Linked DNA regions of Homo sapiens: regions 2 and 3 are each linked to region 1. Evidence: promoter capture Hi-C in 16 types of primary human blood cells and fetal thymus (Javierre and others, 2016). All regions are on one chromosome and are shown on one strand. Each heading gives the region's core, a stretch centred on a gene start or on the middle of the fragment in contact. The rest is flanking DNA. Distances are from core to core; before and after follow the strand shown. Region 1 holds the start of COPS6 (COP9 signalosome subunit 6). Region 2 overlaps TRIM4 (tripartite motif containing 4). Region 3 holds the start of GJC3 (gap junction protein gamma 3).

Evidence for each region. The method cuts DNA at HindIII sites, captures the fragments that hold promoters and counts their contacts. A CHiCAGO score of 5 or more calls a contact.
Region 2: a contact is called between a fragment that was not itself captured here and the fragment with the promoter of COPS6 in region 1, in 1 of 17 cell types (naive CD4 T cells). The highest score is 5.2, in naive CD4 T cells.
Region 3: a contact is called between the fragment with the promoter of GJC3 here and the fragment with the promoter of COPS6 in region 1, in 4 of 17 cell types (naive CD8 T cells, M0 macrophages, non-activated CD4 T cells and 1 more). The highest score is 6.8, in naive CD8 T cells.

Annotation. Positions count from the first base shown.
Region 1 is chr7:100,085,704-100,090,706 of GRCh38, reverse strand. COPS6 (COP9 signalosome subunit 6) reads right to left here and starts at 1,738. Exons shown (of 10, transcript NM_006833.5): 1 at 1,641-1,738; 2 at 1,292-1,417; 3 at 961-1,092; 4 at 220-308; 5 at 53-115. The coding sequence starts at 1,716. RefSeq lists enhancers at 141-1,340, 847-1,538, 2,925-3,618 and a silencer at 1,689-1,878. The HindIII fragment of the contact is 8,452 bases long and covers 1-3,579 here.
Region 2 is chr7:99,908,180-99,913,182 of GRCh38, reverse strand. It overlaps TRIM4 (tripartite motif containing 4), which reads left to right. Exons shown (of 6, transcript NM_033091.3): 2 at 3,523-3,618; 3 at 4,371-4,601. Among named protein-coding and RNA genes, the nearest start is that of TRIM4, 8.8 kb to the left of the region's middle. The HindIII fragment of the contact is 9,956 bases long and covers 1-5,003 here.
Region 3 is chr7:99,926,780-99,931,782 of GRCh38, reverse strand. It overlaps GJC3 (gap junction protein gamma 3), which reads left to right and starts at 2,163. Exons shown (of 2, transcript NM_181538.3): 1 at 2,163-2,943. The coding sequence starts at 2,163. RefSeq lists enhancers at 1,780-2,364, 2,365-2,950. The HindIII fragment of the contact is 6,133 bases long and covers 2,062-5,003 here.

The DNA of each region.
Region 1 (5,003 bases), core at 489-2,988:
AGTAAAAGGTATAGCGACAATCATGACAGAGTAGGCATGGAGTATTACTCACATCTGTGTGCTTGGTCATAGGGTTCAACTTCAGAAAGAGGGGGCTCTCGATGATCTCACACACCTGGAAGAGAGGGACAATGCACAGGAAGTCAGTGCCCCCTACCTTTCTCCTTCCCCTCATTCTCCATTCTCTGCCCCAGCATGCACAGGTGTGAGCATGCATACCTGCTTATGGACGTGGATGTCCGAGGGGTCAGGTGGCCCCCCTGTGGTATACCAACCCAGAAACTCCAGCTCCTTGAACACCTGTTTAACTAGAGGGGAAGGGGCCAGAACATATAGTAATTCTTTTTTTTTTTTTTTCTGAGACGGAATCTCGCTCTGTTGCCCAGGCTGGAGTGCAGTGGCATGATCTCAGCTCACCACAACCTCCGCCTCCCAGGTTCAAGCAATTCTCCTGCCTCAGCATCCCGCGTAGCTGGGACTACAGGCACGCACCACCATGCCAGACTAATTTTTGTATTTTTAGTAGAGGTGGGGTTTCACTATGTTTGCCAGGCTGGTCTTGAACTCCTGACCTCATGATCCACCCACCTCGGCCTCCCAAAGTGCTGGGATTAGAGGCATGAGTCACTGAGCCCGGCCTGACATAGTAATTCTTTAAACCATCCTTCCTCAATGTGAAGCTCCTGGTGTATTTTCACCAGCTTCTCTCCTCCCTCCTCAAATCCTGGCTCAGTTTAGAATAACTACTCCCTTCTATCCTGTCTCCTCTCATCCTTTGCTTTCTTTTGAGAAAGAACTCTGAACGTTTTCTTTTTCTGAGATCTCTCCAGCTACTCTTCACTTTTTCTCCCCTGTTCTTGGTCTCCTCTCCTGTTTCTTTCCAACCCTCTCCATCTTCCCCACCCTGTACATTTTTTTTTTAACTCCCACTCCTCTTCCCCACATCTATTCCACTCTCACACTGCTCCTCCTTGGTGTAATAATATTCCTTGTCAATGATAATCTTCTCTTCCACGGTGTGGGACAGCAGCTCAAAGGAGTTCATCACCTCGATATTTCGGCCCTCCTGCTTGCCAATCAGAGCCCCAATCACTGGGAAAGAGAATGACATGGAAAAGGTGAGGGTAAAGAAACTTCTATGACCTGAGGGTCTGAGATCAGTGGGAACCATGTATTGGGGAAACGATGATTTGGGGGAGGGGGAATTGGCTCCAGTAGAGGAAGGGGAAAAGACCACTGCCTGGGGGAGGTGAGCAAGGAGAAGAGACTGGAGTCTATGCCCAACACTCACCCTGCACAGGCCGCCCCTCCTGGGAGCGCATGCGGATCCAGTGGTCTGAGATGTTGAGAATGACAAGGGGATGGAGAGCGACGGAAACACTCCCAGTCACTCCGCAGGCCATCACGCTGGGGACTACTAAGGGTGGAGGGAAAGGAGAGAGGGTGAGAGTCCGGGCCCCACGTTCTTCCCTGGAGATGGCAGTGGGGGACGGCGGAGCCCGGGCCACACTTTCCTCCCGTAACTTATCCCAGGGAAAGATGTTGCTGCTCCGCCCTCCTCCCTTCTCCCGGGAGCACAGGGAGGCCTCAACGAACCCCTGAAGGAGGTCTCCGGAAGCCACCCCCGCACGGCCCGTTACCTGCTGCATCCACCTCCATCCCGCTGCTTCCTCCGGTCCCGTTCGTAGCTGCAGCCGCCGCCGCCGCCGCCGCCATTTTCCCCGCGCCCGCCAGCCTCGGCCCCGCCCCCTTCCTTCCCGGCTTCCGTAAGGCGAGCGGCGCATGTTCGGTGTCCCCGCGGCGTGCGGCGGGCCTGGCGTCCGGGGAGCAGGCAGTTCCCGGGTCGCGGCGGGCGGCACTCGGTGCGGGGACGCCCGACGCCCTCTGGGCCTCGGTGCCTAGCGGGTTTTCCCAGACCCTGTCCCCGCCTGTCGCCTGCGGGTGACCTTTGACAAATTAACGACTTGATCGTCCTCGTCTGTGAAATTGGGATAAGAACGCCTAGTTCTTAAGGCTGTTGCAGAAGGAATGACATGTCGTGTTATTTCCCTCACAATAAAATCCAAACAACTAACCACAACCTGCAAGGCCCTGCCTGATCTGGCCCCGGCCTGGCCTCTTCTAGCCCTTGATCTTCAGGCTTCAGCTGCACTGGCCCTCATGTCTGGTGGTGGTGGTGGTTTGTTTTGTTTTGTTTGAGACAGGGTCTCGCTCTGTCGCCCAGGCTGGAGTGCAGTGGCCTGATGTCAGCTCACTGCACCCTCAAACTCCTGGGCTCAAGTGATCCTCCCAGTTCAGCCTCCCGAGTAGCTGGGACTACAGGCGCACCCCACCGCACCCAGCTAATTTTATTATTTGTTTTTATTTTGATAGAGACGGGGGTCTCACTAGGTTGTCCAGGCTGGTCTCCAACTCCCGGGCAGAAGAGATCCTCCATCCTCAGCCTCCCAAAGCACTGGGATTACAGGCATGAGCCACCGCACCCAGCTCTCCGTGTGTTTTTCACATGCTTTAGTTTCCCATTCAAAAGCCTGTGGTTCCTTCTCTTGTTCATCATGGTATCCCCTGTGACCAACACGGTGCCTGACACATTGGAGCCTAGATACTTTTTGAGTGAATGAAGGAATAATTAGGGGTGGAATCTGGTGTTGAGTTAGTTGCTCCATCTTGTGAAAGTTGCAGATACCAGGACAAAATCACATTGTCAGGTCCAAACAAATTGGAGCCATGAGAACACCAAGGAGAAGGTCTCATGCTTGCATGTCTGAGATAGGAATTATCTCAAGGACTTTCGAAAATAACCCCACAAGGCCAGGCATGGTGGCTCACACCTGTAATACCAGCATTTTGGGAGACCGAGGCCAGACAATCACTTGAGGTCAGCAGTTTGAGACGAGCCTAGCCAACATGGTGAAACCCCATCTCTACTAAAAATACAAAAATTAGCCAGGCGTGGTGGCAGGCGCCTGTAATCCCAGCTACTCAGGAGCCTGAGGCAGGAGAATTGCTTGAACCCGGGAGGTGGAAGCTGCAGTGAGCTGCGATCGCGCCACTGCACTCCAGCCCGGGCAAGACAAAGTGAGACTCCATCTCAAAAAAAAAAAAAAAAGAAAGAAAGAAAGAAAGAAAGAAGATAACTCCACAAGGCCAGGCATGGTGACTCACGCCTGTAATCCTAGCACTTTGGGAGGCCAAGGTTGGAGGATCACTTGAACCCAGGAGTTTGAGACCAGCCTTGGCAACATGGTGACACCTTGTTTCAACAAAACATGGAAACAAAATTCGCTGGGTATGGTAGAGGCATGCCGAGGAAATTTATGCTTGGGAAGTGAGTCAAAACTCCCTTCCTTTTTGTTCCCAGATAGCTGTAATTCCACAACCCTGTGTCATAGCCTCATACATAAGCCAGGCTCCTACAATGGCAAAAGGCATATACCTCCCCAGATGGTCTTCCTCACAAATTGCTTGCCAGGAAATTCCTCATTAGCCTCTGAATCTTTCAGCATAAACATTCCCCCTATAAACCAGCCCTAATCCGAGTTCTGTGAAATCTCATACTGACAATGTTGATTACAAGCTTATCTTCCCAATTATAGAACAAGGAAGAGACCAGGAATCATCCCTCCACCTATCCTGAGACAGATGCATAACTGACTTTTTCCTCCACTCCCTCTTTTCAAATGTTTATTGTATCTTACATAAAATGTAGATTTACTGAACACTAATGAGAAACTCACAAAAAAGTAACAATGTGCAGCAGGGTGTGCAGTGGCTCATGCCTGTAATCGCAGCACTTTGGGAAGCGAGTGGATCACTTGAGGCCAGGAGTTCAAGACCAGCCTGGCCAACATGGCAAAACCCCATCTTTACTAAAAATACAAAAATTAGCTGGGTGTGGTGGTGCCCACCTGTAATCTCAGCTACTTGGGAGGCTGAGGCAGGAGAATCACTTGAGCCTAGGAGGTGGAGATTGCAGTGAGCCGAGATGGACCCACTGGACTCCAGCCTGGGCAACAGATTGAGACTCTATTTCAAAAAATAAAATAAAATAACCATTTGCTGGACTGGGTGCAGTGGCTCACGCCTGTAATCCCAGCACTTTGGGAGGCCGAGGCAGGCAGATCACAAGGTCAAGAGATTGAGACTATCCTGGCTAACACTGTGAAACCCCGTCTCTACTAAAAATACAAAATATTAGCTGGGCATGGTGACACGCACCTGTAGTACCAGCTACTTGGGAGGCTGAGGCACAAGAATCGCTTGAACCTGGGAGGCAGCGGTTGCAGTGAGCCGAGATTGCGCCACTGCACTCCAGCCTGCTGACAGAGCGAGACACTGTCTTAAGAAAAACAAAACAAAACAAAACAAAAAACATTTGCCTCACTGCCTCTCCTTCTTCCTTATTTTCCTCTTGCATGCTTTCTTCCCTTAAATACTGAGTTCCTGGCCAGGCACAGTGGCTTATGCTTGTAATCTCAGCACTTTGGGAGGCCGAGGTGGGTGAATCACCTGAAGTCAGGAGTTCAAGACCAGCCTGGTCTCGACCAGTAGAGATGGTGAAACCCCATCTCTACTAAAAATACAAAAATTAGCCAGGCGTGGTGGTGCATGCCTGTAATCCCAGCTACTCGAGAGGCTGAGGGAGGAGAATCACTTGAACCCGGGAGGCGGAGGTTGCAGCGAGCCGAGATCACACCACCACACTCCAGCCTGGTTGACAAAGCAAGACTCTGTCTCATAAAAAAACCCAAAATTCACATCTGGCTAGCCTAGGCTGCTCCACCCCCTCCTTACCCCTAAACCTAAGCAAGTTGCACACACTGCTCCTCCTGCCACCCCTACAAAGAGGGGTACAGACACCTAGAAAGAGCCAGACATACTCTGGCTCTAGGTGTCTGTATCCCCACCCAAAGTGTAAGCTCCTAGAAAGCAGGTGAAGAACTGTGTTATGACCCTGAACAGCCCCATATGGTGATAGTTGTAATTTACAGGGGAATTATGCA
Region 2 (5,003 bases), core at 634-3,133, 180 kb after region 1:
GAACCATATGAGAGAATTCATGCATACTGACTTGTTAAGGCTTTTTAAGACATAGAAAATCTCTATTTAGTAGATTATTATATTTTTCATTATCAAGCAAAGTGAAAACTTTCAAAAACTTGGTCCTATTTGAAGGAACTAATATATATCTCATTACAAACCTCATATACATCAAATTTGACAGTGACCACAAAGCGGCAGTTATAATTGAATAAAGTGAAATTACATGAGAGAGTAGCAGGGTTACATGCCTATTAAAGTTAACTACTAGAGATAGTAAATAGATGATATAATGTTAGGAAACATCATGGTAGAAACAGAATAGCACAGATGGTATTGTGCCATTTAACAGAACTGTATGAATCCCTTTTATAATTTAATTTTGTTTTCCTATTTCATTTTACCATGAAAATTTCAAGCATACATCAAAGTTGGAAGAATTTTGTAGTAACACCAGTGTACCCACATGTAGATTCTACCATTAACATTTGACTCTTTTATCACATAGCTGTCCATTTGTCTGTATCTCTCTGAATACATCAATTCTTATTTCCTTTTGATGCTTTTAAAATTCAATTGCAAACAAAATACTTCAGCATGTATATCATTAACCAGATTTAACATTTGTTTATGGTATTATTTTTTTTTTTTAATATGTAGAGTCTCATTCTGTTACCCAGGCTGGAGTGCAGTGGTGTGATCTCGGCTCACTGAAACCTTTGCCTCTGGGTTCAAGCGATTCTCATGCCTCAGCCTCCCAAGTAGCTGGATTACAGGCTTGTGCCACCACACCTGGCTATTTCTTTTGTATTTTAGTAGAGACAGGGTTTCACCATGTTGCCCAGGCTGGTCTCGAACTCTTGGCCTCAAGCTGTCCACCTGCCTTGGCCTCCCAAAATGCTGGGGTTACAGGCGTGAGCCACCGTGCCTGGCCTATGGTATTTTTTGAGGTAAAATTTAATACCATGAAAAACACAAATCTTAGTTGTACATTTGCTGAGCTTTGACAAATGCCCTTCTCAAGATAAAGGATATTACCATCCAGAGAATTCTTTCATGCCCTTTCCCAGTTATTCTCTGCACCCTTCCCCTACCAGGGCAACCACCGTTCTGATTTTTTTTCAAACACAAATTAGGTTTTGCCTGTTCCAGAACTTCATATAAATGGAATTCCATTGTCTGTATGGATCCTTTTGCTCAGCATATTGATTTTGAGATTTATCCATTTTTGTATAGGTTGGTGCAAATGTAATTGCGGTTTTTGCCATTATTTATCCACCTTCCTATCAATGAATACCTGGACTGTTTCCAGCTTCTAGCTATTGTGAATAAAGCTGCGATGAATATTCTTGTACAGGTCTATTTATGGGTACATGTTTTCATTTTTCCAGGGTCTAGGAGTAGAATTGCTGTACCCTAGGATTAATGTATGTTTAGTTTTACACTGAACCTTCTTCCAAAATGGTGGTAGCATTTCATTCGCCTGCTAATGTTGTGTAAGAGTTCCAGTTGCTCCATACCCTTGCCAACTTTGATGTTATCAACCTTGTCAGTTATTTAACTTGATTTTAACCATTGTCACTTGTAAATGATTGGATGAAAAGTTATACCTATTAGTAATTGTTAGTTTTCTGGGGAAGAATTTAAAAAGTTGTACAGATTATTTTTTAGTTCTAATCATTTCTTTTCTTTTAGTTTTTTAAATTTATTTTTAATTTTTTTAATTTTTTGTTTATTTTGACATATAGTGAGACTTACAGAAAGTTGCCCAGGCCACCCTCCAGCATTTGACACTATTCACTAGTTTTGTAATTTAAATGGTCTCTTCCTTTGGCATAGGAGAAACCATTCTCTCTTGGTTTTTCACCAACTGCTCACCTTAGCTTCTTTGCAGGATTTTTATTTTCTACATACTGCTTAAATGTAGTTGTTGCCAGTTCTAGCCTTGATCCTCTTACTCTATAGAATCTTACTGGGTGATTTTACGCTCACCCAAGGCTCCAACTGCCACCTGTGCTTTAATCCCGAAATCTGCTTCTGCAGCATAGATCTCCTTCCCAACTCTAATTGCTAACATATCCACTTGGATGTCCCACAGGCATCTCAGACTCAATTTATTTAGGTGAAATTTATTTTCCTTCCTCCCATTTACACACTGCTCTTCTTCCTATATTTTCTAATTTGATAAATAACCTGCAGTCCATCCAGTTACTTAAACCACAACTGAGGGGCTAAATCTGGACCCTTTCCTCCTGCAGCCATTTGATCATCAGTTCCTGTGGGTTTTTCTCTTGTGTGTTTCTCTAACATTTCTGCTTCCATCTCTGCACTCGCAGCTGACATCCTACTATCGGGTGCTGCCCCTCAGCCCAATTTGTCAATGTTGATTGACTTGCTTTATTTTTTAATAACTTACTCGGGTTTTTAAATTACAAAAATGGCATATGCCACTTGTAGAAATTAAAGCAAAAATGCATAAAATTTCTAGTACCCCACCTCCAAATTCGTAAGCCATTCTTTTTCCTTGGAAGTCACCAATGTTAATACTTGGGTATACATCCTTCCAGATTTCCCTTGCTTTCACATACAAATACACACACATAGATAAACACGTATGCGCATAGACACGTTTATTCTTTTCAAAACAGAATTGTACAATACATATTGTCTTATGGCTTGCTTTCAACTTATTGTGTATTTCATGTCAATATATAGACAGCTACCTGAAATTGATGCAAAGTATCAATATAACATAATTTATTTAATAATTCCTAATTAGTGGATAATGAATAATGCTATAGTGACCATTTCTTTACATATTGGTTATTTTTGCTAGTGTTTTGTTGCATAGATTATTAGAAGTAGCATTATACCCATTTAAAATTTTGTTAAATCCTGCCAGTTGTCCATCAAAAAAAGGCACGTTTTTAATCTCCTGTGGTGCCAGAGGCCTTCTCTCTGCCAGTAGTAGATATTTGCTAATCTTCTAACAGTTTTTAGTTTTTGCTAACTTACCAGGAAAACTCAATATAGTGTTGTGATGATTTCAGACCAGAATAGTTCTTATCATAGGCCTGTGACCGTCTTCAGCATTTTTTCAATCTCATTCTCTGTTTTGATTAGGTGACTTTTAGCTCTTAAAAAATGAAGTTGCCAGGCGTGGTGGCTCATGGCTGTAATCCCAGCACTTTGGGAGGCTGAGGTGGGAGGATCTGTTGAGCCCAGGAGTTCAAGACCAGCCTGGGCAACATAGGGAGACTTTGTCTCTACGAAACATAAAAAAATTAGTTGGACCTGACGGAGCATGCCTGTAGTCCAGCTACTTGGGAGGCTGAGGTGGGAGGATCACTTGAGCTTGGGATGCTGAGGCTGTAGTGAGCCATGATCAGGCCGCTGCAGTCTAACCTGGGTGACAAAGTGAGACTTTGTCTCAAAAAAAAAAAAAAAAAAAAACAAAAAGAAAAAAGAAGATGATGATGGTTGGAGATGTGTTTTCTTACCTGTGTGTGTTTCTGCTGGCAGGAGAAACTTCTTAAGTCTCAGCGTAATCTCGTGGCCAAGATGAAGAAAGTCATGCATTTACAGGATGTAGAAGTGAAGAACGCCACACAGTGGAAGGTAATGGCAGAAGTGGTTGGATATTTCTTGCTCCTGAGGTCCTTTTGGTCTGGGACATTTCTTGCTTCTGAGGTCCTTTTGGTCATGGGGTTTTGCAGTTCACGTAGAGTCTTGGATGCCTCAGAACCTCTGTTTCCTCCATATCATGTGACTGAAAGAAGAGCTTTCTGGGTGTCAGTTCAGTTGTCAGGCCCCTTGTAGATACGGGGATAGGAGAGGAAGTACCTGTCCCTGCTGCTAGTGGCTTTGGGTGATAATGAGTTCCGCATACTTCATCCCCATGTCTCTACTTTAAGGTAGCACCCCTCTCCTTCCTACTTTTTCCTAAATATACTCCCTAGGTTAGAGTCGGTTTGGGCCCATGGCATTGTGGAAAGAAACAGATGAATGGATGCACACACACACGCACACACACACACACACACACACACCCTCACACTCCTAAAGATTTGGTAAAACTAAACGAGTTCTGAAGGCTAAACTAAGTAGTAGATGTGAAAGTTTGTTTTAGTTTAAAACTTGTCAGTAGTAGAGACTGAAATGTTAGGAAGAATGAATGAATACTATAATGACTAGACAGAGCTATCAAGTAGGTATAAATAAAGGAGTAATGGAAATTTTAGTGGGGGTGGGCAGGAGCTTTTCAAGAGGGTTTGATTAGGATTGACTGTGGATTACTGGGGAATTGTGTAAGGAATTTAGTAGCTGGGGTCAGGCAGAAAAAGGAGTGAGCAAATCTCATGTGGCCTTAGGATAAGATAAAGAGTCAGCGAATGAGAATCAGCACGGAGTTTTCAAAGCTGCACAACTTCCTGGTTGAAGAAGAGGACCTGTTTCTTCAGAGATTGAACAAAGAAGAAGAAGAGACGAAGAAGAAGCTGAATGAGAACACGTTAAAACTCAATCAAACTATCGCTTCATTGAAGAAGCTCATCTTAGAGGTGGGGGAGAAGAGCCAGGCTCCCACCCTGGAGCTGCTTCAGGTGAGACAGTTACGAGTGGGGGTGATCTCATCTTCACTAACTGAACTCTCTCTTGTCTTTAGAGCTGAATGTCCTTCCTGGTGAGTGGGTTTCATAGACATGTCTTATCTCTTGCTAGTTCTGTGCTGTCACATAACTAAAAAGCCAAAGATTCACCATTCAAAGGAAATTAATGTGAAATGTAGGTATGCTGAGCTCAGCTCATAGGAGATAAGTTGATTCACACAGTCTCATAGTTCATCTAGGATCTGAGACTTAGCACATATAAGATTTTTTTCATTCATCTTATGTGTACATTTATAATTATTAAACAATAAAACAAAGCAAGCATAAAACTCCCAAGTACATAACTGTTATCAACAATTAAGAGACACTTAACTTTCTCGCTTATTTTTAATCATT
Region 3 (5,003 bases), core at 914-3,413, 160 kb after region 1:
TCCCTGCCATGTTTTGACACAGTATGGAAACCCTCAACAGAAGCTAAGCAGATGTGCAGGCTGCAGAGCTGTGAGTCAAATAAACCTCTTTATAAATCACCCAGCCTCAGGTTCTCCTTTGTGGCAACACAAAATGGACTAAGACACTTGGTAAGGGCTCCACCTCTTAGTACTATCACACTGAGTACAGCACTTCCACCTTTCCACCTCTTAATACTATCACATTGAGTACAGCACTTCCACCTTATCTGTGGGAGATATGTTCCAAGACCTCCAGTGGATGCCTGAAATTGTGGATAGTACCAAACTCCATATATACTATGTTTTTTTTCCCCATATGTACATCCCTATGATAAAGTTTAATTACAAATTAGCACAGTAAGAGATTAACAACAATAACTACTAAGAAAATAGAACAATTGTGGCTGGGCATGGTGGCTCATGCCTGTAATCCCAGCACTTTGGGAGGCCGAGGCAGGTGGATCACAAGGTCAGGAGACTGAGACCATCCCGGCCAACATAGTGACCCTGTTTCTACTAAAATACAAAAAATTAGCCCGGCGTGGTGGTGCGCCCCTATAGTCCCAGCTACTCAGCAGGCTGAGGCAGGGGAATTGCTTGAACCTGGGAGGCAGAGATTGCAGCGAGCCAAGATCGTGCCAGTGCACTCCAGCCTGGTGACAGAGCGAGAGTCCGTCTCAAAAAAAAAAAAAAAAAAAAAGAAATAGAACAACTGGAACAATTGTAACAATATGCTGGCATCACTACTCTTGCTTTTTGGGGCTATTCTTAAGTAAAATAAGAGTTACTTGAACGAGTATTGATAGTTGATCTGATAACCAAAATGGCGATTAAGTCACAAACCAGCAAGGAGCGTCTACAGCGTTGGATACCCTGGACAAAGGGATGATTCACATCCTGGGTGGGATGGTGTGAGATTTCATAGTGCTACTCAGAACAGCACACAATTTAAAACATTAATTTTGTATTTCTGGAATTTTCCATTTAATATTTTTGGACCTCTGTTGACTGTGGGTAACTGAAACTGTAGAAAGTGAAATCGCAGATAAGAGGGGGGACTACTGTATTAGGTTCTAGCATATGCATCTTGATCATCATTCAGACCATACCACATGGTCTTCTGAGTGTGAGGGTAACCAGATGAGTGAGAATTTAGGCTAAATGGGGACGGTTTGAAACAGCTGCTGGGCATTGGGGAAGGCAGCTGATTAGGACAAATATAGAGATGGTGAACTTGGGCTTGTAGCATTGTGGTATTTTGGCTGGGGAACAGAGGGATTTCTGAAACTTATCCTTGATCATGGTCGCCTGTCACCATGAGGGAGATAATATGCCCAAGGAACAATGGCAAGTGGGGGTCAAAAATCTGAATTTCTATCTAGTCAGTTCTGGCTCTGGCCCCAAATCCTATAGTATGTAATTCTGGTAAATTCTGCTGGGTTACCTTCCAAATGTTCTCTTCTTCCTCAGCTTGTAAGGCCTAAGAGCATCAGACTAAAGCAAGCCTCGATGCTTGCTCTGTTCATTTCATCCATCACATCTAGCCCCATAACCTAACTACCTCTCAACTTTACCACTGTGATGGGAGAAGAGGACATCCAGACACACCTGTGATCATCCAAGGGCATGGAGGAAGAGAAAAGAAGACCGCAAGAGAATGCACATTCCCTCTCAGCATCAGCACTAATTTGCTTAAGATGATGCTGTAGGAGCACCAGGCCTGGCAGCCATCAGCTGGGGAAGCAATACCTTTCAAAGGAAAATTAACAAAACATCCCAGTCTACTCTCTTACGTTCAGCCTTTGGGAAAGAGAGACGGAGGGAAGGAGGGAAAGAGAGAGATGAAGATGTATCCTGGTCTCTCCAACCTGAGAGTTCCTCTCCACTCCAGCAGTACAGAAGGGGAGGGCAGAAGAGAGAGCCACACCACACACACTCACTGTTATTATTTTACATAGATGATTTCATTAAGTAGTAAAGAGGTGCAATCAGAGTCTTGGTATTTAATCAGTCAGATACTTGGAGAGGAATAAAAAAGCTTGCCTTCAGTGATCCTTGGATTAGGAGTGACAAGGTGGACTGGAGCTCCCTCTGAAGGACAGTGAACAACACTGATCTCTTGTCCTCTGCTCCAAAACAGGATGTGTGGCAGGTTCCTGCGGCGGCTGCTGGCGGAGGAGAGCCGGCGCTCCACCCCCGTGGGGCGCCTCTTGCTTCCCGTGCTCCTGGGATTCCGCCTTGTGCTGCTGGCTGCCAGTGGGCCTGGAGTCTATGGTGATGAGCAGAGTGAATTCGTGTGTCACACCCAGCAGCCGGGCTGCAAGGCTGCCTGCTTCGATGCCTTCCACCCCCTCTCCCCGCTGCGTTTCTGGGTCTTCCAGGTCATCTTGGTGGCTGTACCCAGCGCCCTCTATATGGGTTTCACTCTGTATCACGTGATCTGGCACTGGGAATTATCAGGAAAGGGGAAGGAGGAGGAGACCCTGATCCAGGGACGGGAGGGCAACACAGATGTCCCAGGGGCTGGAAGCCTCAGGCTGCTCTGGGCTTATGTGGCTCAGCTGGGGGCTCGGCTTGTCCTGGAGGGGGCAGCCCTGGGGTTGCAGTACCACCTGTATGGGTTCCAGATGCCCAGCTCCTTTGCATGTCGCCGAGAACCTTGCCTTGGTAGTATAACCTGCAATCTGTCCCGCCCCTCTGAGAAGACCATTTTCCTAAAGACCATGTTTGGAGTCAGCGGTTTCTGTCTCTTGTTTACTTTTTTGGAGCTTGTGCTTCTGGGTTTGGGGAGATGGTGGAGGACCTGGAAGCACAAATCTTCCTCTTCTAAATACTTCCTAACTTCAGAGAGCACCAGAAGACACAAGAAAGCAACCGATAGCCTCCCAGTGGTGGAAACCAAAGAGCAATTTCAAGAAGCAGGTGAGAAGGACACGCTCTCTTCCTGTCACTGATGTTTGTGTCCTGATGATCTCCTCCCGGGGCAGGTCCCTCACCTTTCTGGGAAGTACAACTTCTGCATGTTACAAAGTAGGTAACCAGGTTCTAGGCAGATGTGTTCTGACCGCCACTCCCAACCCTTTTCTTTGTTCTCTCTTGCTCTCAAAATCTATCCCAATGTCCATCCCCATCAACTTGATGGTTCCTTCCAGCGAACAAGGACAAGAGTGCTAGTCCGTTGTCCCTCCTGAACTTCCATTTAGGTCTCTCTCCACTTAGGAAAAATCTCAGCTTCTTCTTGATTCTCTACTTTGCAGAGTTATAAAGACACCTGACTTGCCTGAAGGAAACTCTGTGATTGAATCTTCTTTCCAACATCCAGTGAGTGGGGATTCATGTCTGTGACAAATTAGAGGCTGTTGAAGGATCTCTAAGGGCCCCTTGGGCCATGTAGTCTAAAGCATTTCCTGACTGTGCCTTTTCACTGGAATTTTCTGGTGTCAGCATCACAATTTTTATGGGCTTGGTTCAAGAGTCAGCCGGGAGAAGCCTCCCTAAACTGTGTCTCTCCCCTGTCCTGCTCAATAAATATTGATGACTGCTGTTGGCATTCCTGTTGCTGAAGATAATGCCCCTTCCTGTCTCACTGGCTTCATTTACCTCTTTTCTGTTTTTCCACATTCTCTGCTCCCCTTATCATCAAAGTTTTGTAAATGAATGCCCCTCAGACCTGCAGCACATGTCATAAGCCAGAAACTCTGGGCTTCAAGCATATATAAGTCAGTGTCCTCTAATATCTATAGATTTATCCAAATACCCGGCCATATCCTTAAGGAAAATTACTGTGAATTCAGGGGCTTAGGCCCCCTTGATCACTGATAGCTCTGATTTCTGCTCAATTCTCATTCTTCATTTCTGCAGTTCTCGTTGCAGCTTGTTACAATTGTCTCCAGAACTGCAGCAACTCATGCTGGACCAAGTTCCTACTCTTTAATTTCATAACCCTCAATACCACACAGAAAAAGCAGTAGAGTTCTACTGCTGATATGCTGATTTGGGAGTAACAGCAAGGGAGGCTGACATCACAGTGTGATTCGGCGGGTAACTGCAATCTGAATATCAGTCTTCTCGAGTCTCTTAGTCATTTCTGTTGGACAGTGTTGTTCTATCCCTTTTTTTTTTTAACAGAACGCTGCCCTCTTTTCTTAGTTTTCTCTTGCCCTGAAATTCTCAACAAAGGCAGTTATCTATTTTTTTTTCTCTTTCTGAATCCCAAATTATCCCCAAGTAAGTTAGGGGATCCCAAGGGATGCTTTGGCAATAGCTAGGAAATTTTTTTTTTCTTCCTGCTACACAAGTGCTTCATAAGAATCCCTCATCCACTGTAGCCAGAGCCCAGCCAAAGTGACCAAGGAAAAACGCAAATAGCATCATTTGGAATTCTTCCTTATACCACCCCCTTTTAAAACAGCTTTATTGAGATATAATTCATACACCATATAATTTATCCACTTAAAGTGAGGCAGGAGAATAGGTTCTGGAGGAAGGGAACCTAAGGCTGTTTCACGCCAACTTCCTAGGACTAAATTGAAAGGAAAACTCTAACTTTCCTTGCCTAAGTAACACAAGGACCAGAGGCTACTCCCTTTGCAACACCCCCACCTTTTCTGTGCAGCAGATGGGAAATTGCCTGTCCCCAACAAATCAGGCTGTTTGCAGATGAGTCTTCCTTTGCAACTTCGTAACTTCTTCCTAGCCTCTGATTGGTTGCTTTCTGCAAAGCATGAACTGGCCAAAGGGAAACTTCTAGTGGGTACTGGGACCCAAGAAGATTGTGTATCCGTGCCCTTGAACCGCTGCTCGGATTGCTCCCACACTGTGGCGTGTACTTTGGTTTTCAATAAATCCCTGCTTTCGTTCTTTTGTTGCTTCATCCTTTCTTTGCTTTGCTAGGAGTTTTGTCCAATTCCTTGTTCAAAACGCCAAGAACCTGGACAACTTGCAGTCACTATCCTCTACCAGTGACAAAAGTATACAATTAA